Linked DNA regions of Homo sapiens: regions 1, 3 and 4 are each linked to region 2. The links are contacts of gene promoters, found by promoter capture Hi-C in blood cells and fetal thymus (Javierre and others, 2016). All regions are on one chromosome and are shown on one strand. The core of a region is centred on a gene start or on the middle of the fragment in contact, and the rest is flanking DNA. Distances in the headings are between cores, read along the strand shown. Region 1 overlaps CUBN (cubilin). Region 2 holds the start of VIM (vimentin). Region 3 overlaps CUBN (cubilin). Region 4 overlaps CUBN (cubilin).

What was found. Contacts are between HindIII fragments. The CHiCAGO score rates a contact against its expected background, and 5 or more counts as called.
Region 1: a contact is called between a fragment that was not itself captured here and the fragment with the promoter of VIM in region 2, in 10 of 17 cell types (endothelial precursors, activated CD4 T cells, M0 macrophages and 7 more). The highest score is 12.2, in endothelial precursors.
Region 3: a fragment that was not itself captured here is called in contact with the fragment with the promoter of VIM in region 2 in 14 of 17 cell types (activated CD4 T cells, naive CD8 T cells, M2 macrophages and 11 more); the score reaches 18.2 in activated CD4 T cells.
Region 4: a fragment that was not itself captured here is called in contact with the fragment with the promoter of VIM in region 2 in 15 of 17 cell types (activated CD4 T cells, M0 macrophages, total CD8 T cells and 12 more); the score reaches 23.8 in activated CD4 T cells.

The regions. Positions count from the first base shown.
Region 1 is chr10:16,970,216-16,973,958 of GRCh38, reverse strand. The region is part of intron 31 of CUBN (cubilin); the gene reads left to right. Among named protein-coding and RNA genes, the nearest start is that of RSU1, 150 kb to the right of the region's middle. The HindIII fragment of the contact is 1,530 bases long and covers 1,052-2,581 here.
Region 2 is chr10:17,226,063-17,229,490 of GRCh38, reverse strand. It overlaps VIM (vimentin), which reads right to left and starts at 1,250. Exons shown (of 10, transcript NM_003380.5): 1 at 967-1,250; 2 at 1-215. The coding sequence starts at 68. VIM-AS1 (VIM antisense RNA 1) reads left to right here. Exons shown (of 3, transcript NR_108061.1): 1 at 1-146. RefSeq lists a silencer at 2,557-2,771. The HindIII fragment of the contact is 5,594 bases long and covers 1-3,428 here.
Region 3 is chr10:16,924,748-16,928,181 of GRCh38, reverse strand. It overlaps CUBN (cubilin), which reads left to right. Exons shown (of 67, transcript NM_001081.4): 41 at 1-25; 42 at 2,408-2,598; 43 at 2,758-2,941. Among named protein-coding and RNA genes, the nearest start is that of RSU1, 110 kb to the right of the region's middle. The HindIII fragment of the contact is 5,679 bases long and covers 1-3,434 here.
Region 4 is chr10:16,869,834-16,873,386 of GRCh38, reverse strand. CUBN (cubilin) reads left to right here. Exons shown (of 67, transcript NM_001081.4): 59 at 3,534-3,553. Among named protein-coding and RNA genes, the nearest start is that of RSU1, 54 kb to the right of the region's middle. The HindIII fragment of the contact is 1,153 bases long and covers 1,578-2,730 here.

The DNA.
Region 1 (3,743 bases), core at 567-3,066, 260 kb after region 2:
CATGCCCGTGTTCATCGCGGCACTGTCCACGATAGCAAAGGCATGGAATCAACCTAGATGCCCATCAATGGTGGATGGGATGAAGAAAACGTGCTACGTATACACCAGGGAATGTGACACAGCCACAAGAATGAACAAGACCATGTCCTTTTCAGCAACATGGATGGAGCTGGAGGCCATAATCCTAAATGAAGTAACACAGGAACAGAAAACTAAATACTGCATGTTCTCACTCAGGAGTGGGAGCTAAACACTGAGTACATATGGACACAAAGAAGGGAACAACAGGCGCCAGGGCCTACTTGAGGTTGGAAGCTGGGAGGAGGGAGCAAGTTGAAAACCACCCATCACGTTCTTTGCTCATTACCTGGGTGACAAAATAGACTGTACACCAAACCCCCATGACAGGCAATTTACCTCTATAGCAAACCTGCACATGGACCCTTGAACCTAAGGTGAAAGGTTTTTAGAAAAAGAAGTCAGGGTCAGGACTTGCCGTCTGTAATTCTGGGCCTCAAGCTCTTAAGCAGAAGAGCCCACTTTCGAATCTTCCTCGTAGTATAGCACCTAGGATTTAGCATATCTAGGGCTCAGTGCTCTGGAATCATTGTGAAAATGGCCGACATCATTCATTTGGGCCTGGAAGCCAGGGAAGCGTTCACACTGGAGGCGACATTTAAGTGGCAGAGTCTCGCCAGTAGAAATGCAGCAGTGAGGCCACGAGGGGAGGCTGCAAGGGAAGGATGGGGAAATGGTGCACGCACATTTGGGAATAAAAAATGAGAGTGTTGTCCCTGGAGCGTGAAGAAATGCCGGGGAGCATGTGGAGACCAAGGGGCTACAGAAGACATCTGAGCTCTCTTCTGCTCCAGTTAAGAATTTGAAATTATCCTATAGGTAGTATGGAGTCAGTGAAAATTTTCTGTAAAACGGGAATAACATACTCAGAGCTGTATTCTACAGTGACAACAGGCAGCAGTGTGTGAAGAATGGCTTGGCAGAGAAAAAGAAAGATGGTAGCATGTCTGTTTGGGAAGCAATGGAAAAAGCTTGGATCAGAGGTGATAAGGTCTCATAGTAGGCAGTGGTCTTGGGACACATGGAGAGCGCAGGGACACGTGGAGAACTGTCACGGTGGCAGTCACTAGAATTAGAGGCTAATTACATGGTGGTGGGTGGGGCTGGTGATAGAGATGGTGGGGGGAAGCCTATTTGCTTGAAGAATGAATGAATGGCCGGGAGTGATGGCTCATACCTGTAATTCCAGCACTTTGGGAGGCCGAGACAGGAGAATTGTTTGAGCTCAGGAGTTTGACACCAGCCTGGACCCCATCTCTGCAAAAAAATTAAAAAATTAGCCTGGCCAAGTGGCACATACCTGTATTCCCAGTAACTCAGGAGGTTGAGGTGGGAGGATGGCTTGAGCATGGGAGGTCGAGGCTGCGGTGAGCTGTGATCACACCACTGTACTCCAGCCTGGGTGACAGCATGACCCTGTTTCAAAAAAAAAAAAAATTGTGAATGATGAGGCCATTAACTGAGTAAAGGGAGTAGATGATAGTGAGTTTGACTTGTAAACTTTTGGGTTTAAATATTATATAGTTTGACATAAGAGTTCAGAGCTTGGGATAGGATCTGAGCTAGACATATACAATTGAGGATAATTTCTGTATATTGGGTGGTTATTAAAGTTGTGGGAGTAGGTATGATCACTTTTAGGAGTATTTTACCAAGAGAAAGGGGCCAAGCCAACTCCTGGGGAAACACTGCCATGTAACGGGTGGATGAAAGATCAGAGGAGAGGAGGCTGAGGAGGTGCGCTGAGTGCTTGGTGGAGAACCAGAAGAGAGTGGTAGCATTCAAACCACGAGGGAAGCTGAATTTCAAGGGTGGGTGATCAAAGGTATCAAATCCCATGCAGGATGCCAACGAGCGTGAGGATTGCAACAAAGCCCCTGGATTCCGTCTTTAATAACCTGCAAGGAGCAGGATTGTGGCGGGTGGTGGTGGAAGACTCAAGGTCACAGTGGTTAGGAGGTGCAGGAGCTTCTGAGCTTTTCCCCAGAGTTACGGAAATGAGTGGCATAAGGAGAAAATGGGCAGTAACCAATGGGTTAACCAAAATCAGTGGAGAGTTGGTTTTTTAAAAAAAATGGAGAAATATAAGTTGTGTGAAGAGGGCAGGTGGAAAAAGAGCAGCTGAATGTGAGAGCCAGGCGAACAGTAGAGAAAATCATGTTTTCAGGACAGAGACACCAAGAAGCGCCAGATTGGTTCTATGAATGTTGTACTTTTTAGAATAAGAAATTGAAACCCATGGCTTGGCACAAGATTTTTCTGATTTATAAATTCATTATGTTAAAAATTGCATAAATTGTATACAAACTAAGTCATTTTTTCTTGGATGATTTATAAATCAACTTTACAAAAAGATAAGGAAGTTTTAAAAGAAAACAAGACTGTCCAGGTAAGTTGGGGTAGAGATCTGCTATATATTTGCCAAATGTGCCCACTTAAGGGGACAGGAGGTCTGCAGAGGTTTGGAACCAGACCAGGCAATGCCCTGGCAAGGCTGGAAGCTTGTTAGTTAGTTGTCCAGGGATTCATGAAGGCCGGAGTTGAAGCACCAGCCCTCTATCTTTACAGCCAGATGGACACTGGACGGGAAACGTACCCCAAAGTCCAACATCTTACATAATATCTCTGCAGTCTCAGTTCATATAAAGCCAATCCTTCATTTTGGAGACATTCAAGTTAATGTCCTGGTCCTGTTGCTTAGACAGAGTTATTAGCAAAGAGAAAAATATTCAGTTGCCAGTGATGCTGTCAGATAATGTTGGGGTTCAGGAGATTTTTAACAGAGTTCAAGTGTACTCTTTAAATACCAGTGAAAATTATGCTGGAATGGGACCAGCCATCCTGTTTTTTCAAAACTTCTATAACAATTTGGGTTGTTAGAAGAAGAAATAGTAATTTAGCTGTATGTTAAATATGATTTCACATATGATTAACTGTCATAAACCTATAGATACATAGAATGTTAAGGTTGGAAGAAGAAAGCTTAGAGTTCGTTTGCTGTTGTCACCTAATTTTTTAAAAAAAGACATTGAGGTGGAGGTGGGGCAGTGCAAAAAATAAAAATTAATTAAAAAATAAAAAAGATACTGAGATCCAGAAATGTCAGGGTCAAGGCTAAGTAGAAATTAACAGCAGGATCAGCACTAAAACGAAAGCCTTATGCTTCCTACGAAGTGAATAAGTATTTTGGTAAAATATAAAAATTGCAGTTATGTACAGGATACGGAATGGCAGACTAGAAAAATAGAGGGAGAAAATAAATTTAGGGTCAGGCTGGAGCCACTTTGATTTTTTTTTTTTTTTTGAGATGGAGTTTCACTCTTGTTGCCCAGGCTGGAGTGCAAAGGTGTGATCTCAGCTCACTGCGACCTCCACCTCCCAGGTTCAAGCAATTCTCCTGCCTCAGCCTCCCAAGTAGCTGGGATTACAGGCATGTGCCACCATGCCCGGCTAATATTTTGTGTTTTTAGTGGAGATGGGGTTTCACCATGTTGGCCAGGCTGGTTTTGAACTTCTGACCTCAGGTGATCCACCCGCCTCGGCCTCTGATTACAGGTGTGAATGCTGGGATTATAGGCGTGAGCCACCGTGCCCAGCCCACTTTCACTTCTATATCTGATAAGCCCAGCCTTCATTTGTCAATAGAAGGAAAAGTGTTAAGAATT
Region 2 (3,428 bases), core at 1-2,500:
CGGCTCGCGGTGCCCGGGCCGCCGAACATCCTGCGGTAGGAGGACGAGGACACGGACCTGGTGGACATGGCTGCGGAGGGTGGCGATGGCCTGGGCGGCGGCGGTGGCGCGGACTGGCTCCCGGAGAAGAGGCGAACGAGGGCGCGGTGGGTGTGGGTGGTGGGAGCGCGGCTGCGTCTCTGGCGCGGGGACCTCGGAGCGAGAGTGGCAGAGGACTGGACCCCGCCGAGGGCGCTGTTTTTATAACCCCGTTAGGAAAGAGGGTCCCCTCCCACTGCCATCCCAGCCGCGGAGCGCGCCAGCCAATAGGGACCTAGCGAGAAGCGGGGAGGGTGGGCGGGTGGGGTGGGGGCGCCCTCGAGCCTTCCTGCTCCGGGGCCTGGGACTGGGCATGGTCCCGTTACTTCAGCGCTGGGCTGGGACTTTTGGGGGCTTTCCGGATGATAGTCTGAGCTGGGCTCACCCTGGGGTGCTGAAAAAGGCGGGGTCGCGCGGTGAGGGGGGGGTCCGCCTGGGACTGAACCAGAGGGGTCCGGTGGCACCACGCCAAAGGGGCGTGGGAGGAGGTGCGCGGCGGTCTCGGGGCTGCGGTCAGGCGGGGAGACCCGCGGGCAAAGGAGCGGGAAGAGGAAAGAGTAAGGAATCCCTCAGATCTGAAGTCGCGGAGAAAGAAACAAAGAGCGCCTGAGATTGGAACGCGGGGTGGGGGCGCGCACAGCGCAGGAACGCAGGGCTCAGGCCTCGCCGCAGCCTCGCGCGCCGCCCGCTTGGAAAGGGGGGCTGCTCCGGCCCGCGCCTCTGTCCATCGACTTGCCTTGGCGGAGAGATGTTGGGGGGAGGGGAGGTTCTGTCGAGGGACCTAACGGGCTCAGTCCAGCTTCGGACGGCGGGAGTTGCGAGACGGCGGTGGCAGAGGAAAGCCCGAGGGAGAGGGGTGGGGTCGCTTAGTCACCGGCGGTGACTCACCGCGCCCTGCTGTCCCGCCGATTGAGGGCTCCTAGCGGTTTAGGGGAAACCGTTAGACCAGATTGATTCAAGTCTCAGCGGGCTCCGCGCGCGCTGCTAGTTCTCAGTGCTACCAACTTACAGCTGGGCCATCGCCTTGCTGTGTGCGGTCGGGCCCTGTGGGGGACAAGAGCGCCCCTAAGTTTTTAATAACTCGCTAAAGCCTGTCTTTGCTCGAATGTGCGGACTTTTTGTTAGCAAGAAACTTCTGCAGCCTTTGGAGAGGCGCCATACGTGGGCCTCCCAGATCACGATTGCACCGGGAAGGTTTTTCTTGCAGAGTCCCCGCCCCCGTCCCTCTGGTCTCCTCTCGCTCTTCCCCCTCCCCCCATGAAACCACACCCAACTTTTTAAACAAGATCTGAAAATTCTGGGTGAAAGAGGAAACTCGACGTCCGTAGTTTCAAAATAGAACTCAGTGATCAGTGGTTTTTACCCTGGTGGAAGTCATTAAAGGTATAATATGAGCCAGTTAAAGAATTAATTAGGTGTTGCTTAAAAACCCCAATTTGATTAATGAGTTCAAATGAAAGGCAATTATGTAACACAAATGACAGAATCTTTGGCGGCAATAGATTTATGTGTTAATTTTAGGACAGCAATGCACAGTACAGGGTTCACGGTGATTTGTCTGGGAAATGCCATAGGTCCTGTTTTCCAAAAGAATTCGTGCAATTGACCTTGGGGTGAGGGGGATAAAACTGTCTACGCAGCAAAAAACTTCGTGTCCAAGACATGGAGGGAGTGTTCAGATTCGGTCACCTTAACCTTTCTAGGGAAATCACTCAATTCAAGGGCTGTTGTTTCAATATTAGTAACGAGCAGAGCTGAGTACTTACCCGCCAAGGGAGATAAAAGGAGACTATGTAAATCAGTCTTCTCGTGATTTAGTAGCAATTGAAAAGGCACAGGTTTTTTTGAGTATTTAGATTTATGGTGTACTGAAAGGATTAACTGCAGAACCACTGTAAAATTGATTCTGCAGTGGATAGGAGAAAAAAAAGTATTTCTCTCTTTTTTTTTGGTGGCGGCAGGGGGTACTGCAGGTTACTTGGTATTTAAGAAACATAATTTAGAGGTAAATGAAGAGCGTATTCTGACTTCTTTGGACAAGCCTCTTTTAGGCAATATTTTGTTTACCTTATCCCAGTTCGTTCTTGCAAATGGTGCTTGCCAAGGTGGAATTACAGGACTCTCTACTGCCCAGCTCGCCTGCTGGGGCTTTCTTTTATTCTCTCTTTCACTGGGAGGCTGCAGGTCATTCCCCAAGAGCATTCCTGGGGCTGGGTGCCCTGGAGGACAAGCCTATGCTCTGAGTTACATCTTGCTTTCTGAGAGCCCTTTATTCAAGCCACTGCTCAGCAAATGCCACCATTGTGAGTGTGCCTGGAACCCTTAGAATGAGAAAAGTGATCTCCCTATGGGAGGAAGAGAGTGTGGAACTCACTTCTACGTGCAGTGCCGATCCCAGGGCAATGCGACGCTTGCTGACTGACTCACTATGGAAAAGGAGGACAAGGCATTGGCGAGGTGTGGCACTGTGCCCTGCTGGTGCCCATAGCCGATTCCTCAGGGCTGCGGTGATGTCTCCTGGAATGGGCACTGGTCCTCTTCATCATCTCAGGGATAGGTAGCTCCTCCTTCCAACCTGTCCCCATTCTGAAGTCTCTGGGCTGTGATAGGCTGCTCTCTTGTCACAGACATATGTTTGTTTGATGCATATAGAATGTATAAAAGTGTAGGTGTTCTGTAGTCCCAGCACTTTGGGAGGCCAAAGCAGGAGGATTGCTTGAGATCAGGAGTTTGAGACCAGCTTAGGCAACATATATATATGAAACCAAAAAAAGCCAGGCGTGATGGTGCACACCTGTGGTCCCAGCTACTTGGGAGACTAAGGCAGGGGGATTGCTTGAGCCTGGGAAATTGAGGCTGCAGTAGGCTGTGCACACCACTGCACTCCACCCTGTGCAACAGAGTGAGAACCTGTCTCAAAATAAAGTATATGTATGTACTACACACACATATACATACGCACATATACAGCGTTCAATGTGTTTTTCCTATTAGAAAATGCCATTGTTTTTGGTGGGCTGCAAGAGAAGTGAAAGTTGCAGAAACACTTTCATTCATTCATGTAGAATTCATGAGACTTAAGAATTCATTTCATTCTGAGATAAGATATACAGTGCCTCAATCAATGGGTGATAGTTTTCAGTCAGGGAGATCAATGAATCTGAACTCACATCCTTGAGTGAGACAACTCAGCCTGCTCTCTATGCTACTGTGTTCTTAGGTATCTTTTGGGTACACAGACATAGCTTTCCCGGGTTTTGTGTTTATTTTTTAATTGCTATGAAAACCTATCTGAGAAGTATTTTCAAGTGCTGGACTGGGAAGCTGCTTTCAACACAGCATGATGCAAG
Region 3 (3,434 bases), core at 477-2,976, 300 kb after region 2:
GGCTTCAATGCATCCTTTCACAAGAGTAATGAGTTCAAATATTTTTTAATCCCATGTTATCTCATCTCCTCTCTTTTCCTCTCTCTTTCTCTCTTCCTAATATAATGTTTTTGGGCACCAGGACACAAGACAAGTCAGAGGACATGGGTCTCTGCCCAGGCTCTGGATGGCTGGCTCCCCTTACATCAGTGCTGAGTCCTCATCCAAAGCACTGGGGCCAAGTCGTACAAAAGTGTGCTGCCTTCAGGTCTCTGGTGTGGCATCTTCGCTCCAAAGGAGGTGTGTCCAGGGAATGCATGAGAGAGAGCTTTAAAGCAATTTTTCAGCCTAGCTGAGGGCTGGAACTAGATAGAGCACAGCTCATATCCATAACTCATCGAAGGAGCAAAACGTCATCATTTATTCTCATAAATTACTTGGTTGAAGTCAGCCATCTGAGGGTTGGCAGGAAGAGTTTGTTGCTCTTGAAATATGAATTTGATGAGTCAAAAGCGGGCACCATATATGGGATACCATCATGCACAGTATGATTGAGACTTTTCAAACTTGACATGTGAAGTCCAGTAACAGCCTTAAATCCAAACTAACTGAAAGGTGATAAAGTAGTCCAAGGAAGAGTGAAAGACTCTCATGTTTTGATCAAAAAACATAATTTTAAAGTAGATTCTCAATCTAACATTAAAAATTAATCTAATATTTCCTCCATGCTTATATATACCTTTTATAAAGTAGGGAGCAACTGAAGATAAGTTGTGTTCCTCACGCTCAAGGGAGGCAGGCTGCATAGTGGCTTAAGAGCATGGGCTTTGGAACTAGACCTAAGATACATTTTCACCTCTACAATTTAACTAGCTGTGTGAGATGTCTGCCCTTACTGATGAGCTTCTGGTCCCTGACAACTGGAGAATTAATGCCTCCTCCTTTTATCCTCTTCCTTTATCTCCTGCCCTCTCACTCTCATGTATATATTACTATGTATCGCAACTCATTATACATACATACATGTATACACATGTATGTATATAGTAAGGGTGGAACCATTGGAATTAATATGTGTGTTTATATATGTATATAATATATATAAATATGTGTGTGTGTCTATGTATATATACATACTTGGCAGCTCCCGGTCTAGAATGTATTTCAAATTTAACCTGTGAGTGGTATAATGGACTTTGGAGACTCAGAAGTGGGGAGGATGGGTGGGGTATGAGGGATAAAAAACTACATATTAGGTGTAATGTATACTAGTCAGGGAACCAGTGCACTAAAATATAGACTTCACCAGTATGCAATTCATCCATGTAACGAAAAACCACTTGTATCCCAATTAGACTAGATAGATAGATAGATAGATAGATAGATAGATAGAAAAAAAAATTTCACCTTTGAAAGTTGAACACTTTATTCCCACCCTTTTCCATGCCACCACCCCCCAATTCTACACTCCTCATAATCTCAGCAAATGGAAAGTACATTTTTCTCATTATTTAAGTCAAAATCTTGATGTTATTTTTGACTTTTCTGTTTGTCTCACACTTAACCATCAACAAATCACACTGGCTCTACCCTCACAATGTATCTAGATTCCAACCACGCCTCTCCATTTCTGTTGCTACCAGCCTAGCCCGTGCACCTATCATCTCTCCTTGGCCTCAGGCGGTCCCCTCCTTATTGGACACTCTGCTCCTGTCCTTCCCTGTCCTCCACCCCTTACAGTCTAAGGACTGCACATAGAGTGACATTTTCAAACTTAAGTGAGATCATGCCATTCTGATGCCCAAAACCCTTCAACATCTTCCTCTTCTTATTCAGAATAAGTCTTTTCAGTTTCCTGCATGACCTAGCCATGCTACCTTTGGAATCTCTCATTCTGCCTCATCCATTCTGACTTCCATGATGTACCTCTAACACATCAAGCCTTTACACTGTTTTCTGAACTGGAATGTTTTCTCCCCCATAACTATCTGGCTTGATCCTTCATTTCATTCATGTCTCTGCTAAGATGTTACTCCAATGACGTGGCTTTTCTAACTTAACTCTAACAATAAAGTACCCTTCTCCCTCCTCTCATCCATTTTTCTTTATAGAATTTATCACCATCTCACATATCATGTATTTGTTTATTGTATGTCTTCCCCATCTATAAAGAAATCTTTATGAAAGCAGGTAATTTGTCTTGTTTACTTACCTCTGTATCCCAGATCTCAATGACCACCACAAACTGAGTAGCCAATAGCATGTGCTCAATACATGCTTGTTATGATAATCATTTCCTGCACTCTGGCTTTATTTTCAAGCATTTTTATTGCCTCCACTTTGAAAACCCCCCAAGAAAACTAAGAAAGCATAAAAATCCAGTTGCCAATGCTATTTAAATAACCGACCTTTGTTTCTTTGTGGGAAGGCTGCGGTGGATATTTGCATGCAGACAGAGGGATCATCACGTCCCCCAAGTATCCAGAGACTTACCCATCCAACCTCAACTGTTCTTGGCACGTCCTGGTCCAAAGTGGCCTGACCATTGCTGTCCATTTTGAACAGCCTTTCCAGATTCCAAATGGAGATTCTTCTTGCAACCAGGGGGATTACTTGGTGGTAGGTCTTGCTGCTACCCTTTCTAATTACATTTTCCATAGACTTCATTCAGAAAACAAAATGATAATTTTTCTCTCCTGGGACATAAATGGATAAGAATTGCGTACTCCTTCTTTTGCAATGTAAAGGAGTTGATGAAATTTTAATTTGTCTTTCCAGCTAAGAAATGGTCCTGATATCTGTTCTCCACCCTTGGGACCCCCTGGAGGAAATGGTCATTTTTGTGGCAGTCATGCTTCATCAACTCTGTTCACCTCGGATAATCAAATGTTTGTTCAGTTTATTTCTGATCACAGTAATGAAGGGCAAGGATTTAAAATCAAATATGAGGCAAAGAGTTTAGGTAAGTATTTTCACTGAGAATTATATCTGCTTTTCCTGCAATTGCTTGATCTTCTTTGATATAAAATTTTCTTTTCTGAACCAACAGTAATAGAATTAATAAGAATGCCTACTCTCAAGTACTTATTATATTTGATACATTCAATATCTCATCGTGACTACTTTTCAAGTAAAGTATCATTATTTCCATTTTAAAGATAAATAAAATGAGGCTTGGACTTTTCCAAGGCCACATACCTAATTAGTGACCAAAGTGAAATTTTCCATGAGTATAAAATAAACTATTCTTCTTGATCCCTGGAATTCCTTAGACCTTTCCATTATAAGATGTCTAATTGTAAGTTAATTCTAGTTACAGAAACATTATAAGACTTACATTTGCCTTATTTTGTAATAATTTGTATGCTGTTTTCAAAAGAACACATAATTTTTTGATTCTATTATTACTGATTTAATTATATATTACATGATATCTGTAATTGCTTGTACTTAAT
Region 4 (3,553 bases), core at 905-3,404, 360 kb after region 2:
GAACACCTCTAAACTGATGCTATGAGAGATAGCTTGAGTCACTGGTCAATTTTCTTCCCAGTCTTACCTATTCCCAACAAGACTGATGAGGGCAATGCAACCTCCCACTCTCCAGAATGATAAAGTTCAAGACTGTTTTCACCTGACAGCCTATTTCAGTGATATACGTATGGCATGTGGTGGGAAACTCTGACAGTAATATTGTTCATGGTCATGTAGGACTTTCCATACAGAAGCCTGATGGGCTAAGACCACACCTACCTACCTACCTACCTACCTACCTCCCCTCTATTTGTCTGTGATCATTTTCTACCCTAAAGATTCTGTACTCCCTGCAGTTTACTTCCAGAGGCCTCATGTATCAGTTGGCTCTCCAAGTGAACAAGAGATGTCTTGATGAAAGACATCTCTCATCAAGCCTGATTTGGTTCCTGTATCAGGCGTTCTATAGGCTGGACCTCGAAGAAAACTGCAGCTCTTACCTGGACTATTTGTAGGAAAACAGAGTGTCTTTTAGGTCTTGGGGACAAAAGAACAGAAACTGTCAGATGGCCAGGAGCAGGAGTTCTGTGAAGTATGCCTGCACAGGCGTGAAAGTGTAAGGGGGAGCCATTTGCTACTGTGACTCACTATTTGTTTCTCATATGTGTAGGATTGATTATTGCCTTGTTCTGTTCAGGTTGCTTTAACAAAATATCATAAACTGGGTGGCTTATAAACAACAAAAGGCTGCAAAAGTCCAAGGTCGAGGCAGATTCGTTGTCTGGTGAGCTCCTGTTTTCTGGCTTATAGAAGGTACCTTCTTGCTGTGTCTTCATGAGCTGGAAGGGCCTCTTATAAAACACTAATCCCATTTGTGAGGGGTCCTCCCCCATGACCTAATCACCTCCCATAGGCCCCACTTCCTATACCATTAGCTTAGGGAACATATGAATTTAGGGGAACACAAACATTCCAACCATGGTATACATACCAACTCATAGAGGTATGTTATATATTCTCTCTCTCTTTATCTGTCTATCTATCTATATATATATGTATGTATACAATCTAAATGTATTTTTTCAGTTTTCAGCCTGGATCCTGGAGCTCACCATAATGAAATTTACATCTGCATGTTTATTTTATTTTACTTATTTATTTATTTGAGACTAGCTCTCACTCTGTCGCCCAGGCTGGAGTGCAGTGGCGTGATCTCAGCTCACTGCAACCTCCACCTGCTGGGTTCAAGCGATTCTCCCACCTTAGCCTCCTGAGTAGCTGGGACTACAGGTGTGTGCCACCAGCCTGGGTAATTTTTTCTTTTGTATATATATATATATTTAGTAGAGATGGAGTTTTGCCATGTTGGCCAGGCTGGTCTTGAATCCCTGACCTCAAGTGGTCCACCTGCCTCGGCCTCCCAAAGTGCTGGGATTGCAGGTGTGAGCCACCACACCCAGCCTACATCTGCAGGTTTAGAAAATTATTTATTGCGCACTAAGAGCCTACATTCTAGGAAACAGATAAGATTCTAGGTGTGGTAGAAGATGCAGACATTAATAAAAGGCTCTCAAAAGATTGTGGTTACACAAGCTTTTCTGTCAATGGGCTTTTCAGATCTCTTCTGTGCTCTCCTGGGAAAATGATGTAAAATAAAAAGCCAAAGCAGATTTAAGTCCTCTTAGAAACTCAGATTTTATCTCTCTTTGTGGATTCTTTTTGTGAAAAATAAATGTGTTGTCTGTAGAGAATTAAAATGAATACAGTGTTGTTGGAAATTATCTAGCTATTGTTCTTCCCTGATCTTTTACAATAACATTAAATGTTAAATGTGGTAAAAGAAAATCAATACGGTTTTCATCTTGTTCCTCATCAGTCTGAAAACCTTCAACCAACCAAAACCTTTTAGAAAAAAAACCAACAATTTTTTTTCTCAAGGCTGTTGAAAGGAAGCATTTATTATATATTTTATATATAAATATATATTATTTAGTCTATATTTTCAAAATTATTCCATATTATGGATTGTTTATTAGAGCTACTGCCAAAATAAATTGAAAATGCAGGCTGGGCATGGTGTCCCATGCCTGTAATCCCAGCACAGGGAGGCTGAGGCAGGCAGGTCACCTGAGGTCAGAAGTTCAAGACCAGCCTGGCCAACATGGCAGAAACCTCATCTCTACTAAAAAATATACATGTAATTAAAAAAAATAGCCAGGCATGGTGGTGGACACCTGTAATCCCAGCTACTCGGGAGGGTGAGGCAAGAGAATCACTTGAACCAGGGAGGCAGAGGTTGCAGTGAGCTGAGATTGTGCCACTGCACTCCAGCCTGTGCAACAGAGTGAGACTCTGTCTCAAAAAAAAAAAGAAAAAGCAGAAGAACCTATAAAAATGAGGACAGGATATCAAATATTATTTTTTTAAACAAGTTTTAAAAATAAGCTATAATAAACCCACCACAAAACTCTAAAGTAAATCCATGTAAGAAGCCTTGCTTGTTCAGGAACTCTAGAAATCGTTATTTGAAATGACAAAGAATAAGACCTGAATTAAACACTGTATAAGACAGAGAAAAGTTAGGGATGCATCTGTCAGGATAGGTTATGCACATAGTAACAAACAACTCCACCTCACAGCAGCTTAACTCAACAAGTTGATTTCTCATTGTAATGAGCATGTTCAGTGTGGCCTGGCATGGAAGCTCTGCTCATCGTGGTCATCCAACAACCCAGGCTGATGGAAGCTTCGTTTTTACATTTGCTTCCATGATCATCACTGCAGTGGGAAGGCAGTGTGGCAAAGCAAGTAGTCATTTGTAAAGCTTCTTCCGTAAAGTAATATGTATCCCTTCTGCTTACATTTCTGTGGTCAAAGCAACTCCTAGCAGCCATGTCAAGCCTCAAAGTGTGCCCCTAGGGCAATCCTACCAGTGCTGGGGAGGCAGAGAGCTGGGACCATGTGCAGAAGTGTCAGTGACCACCACAGAGGTCTTAAATGTAAATTTCCTGTTCTTCACCTGACCTTAACATAAACTTCATTTTAAAAGAGGAAAATGAGACTGTGAGGAGAATGGAGCTGTGATTCTAAAAGCAGCATTTCTTCTATTATATTAACATGCTTCCCATAAGTTCTACTTCATCTCATAAAATAACAAGGGAAGAGTAAATATGGTATTTTTAATGAGACCTAAAAAACTAAAGTATTGCTGGGATAGTAAATATCAGTTCAACTTGTCAAAAGTTGTTCTCAGATGGACTTTAATATGCCCTAGACTGTGAATTCCTTGAAAAGTAAGACTGTATCTTACTCACTTTGACATCCCCAGCTGCTGTCACAGTTTTTGTTGTATTGTAATTACTAAAAACAAATTTGGCTAAACTTTTGAACTGATCAGTAAAGTACTGTTTGATTTCTAATATTTCATATCAAGTGAGTTTTGAATGCTCTACTGGTAGTTTTTTCCTTGTCATTTTTTTTGCAAGAGCTAAAGCTACAATTTAATAGAAGTCCAAATGGAAACATCAGTATTAACAAGGTACATTTCACAGGTTCAGTGATTTTGATGTGG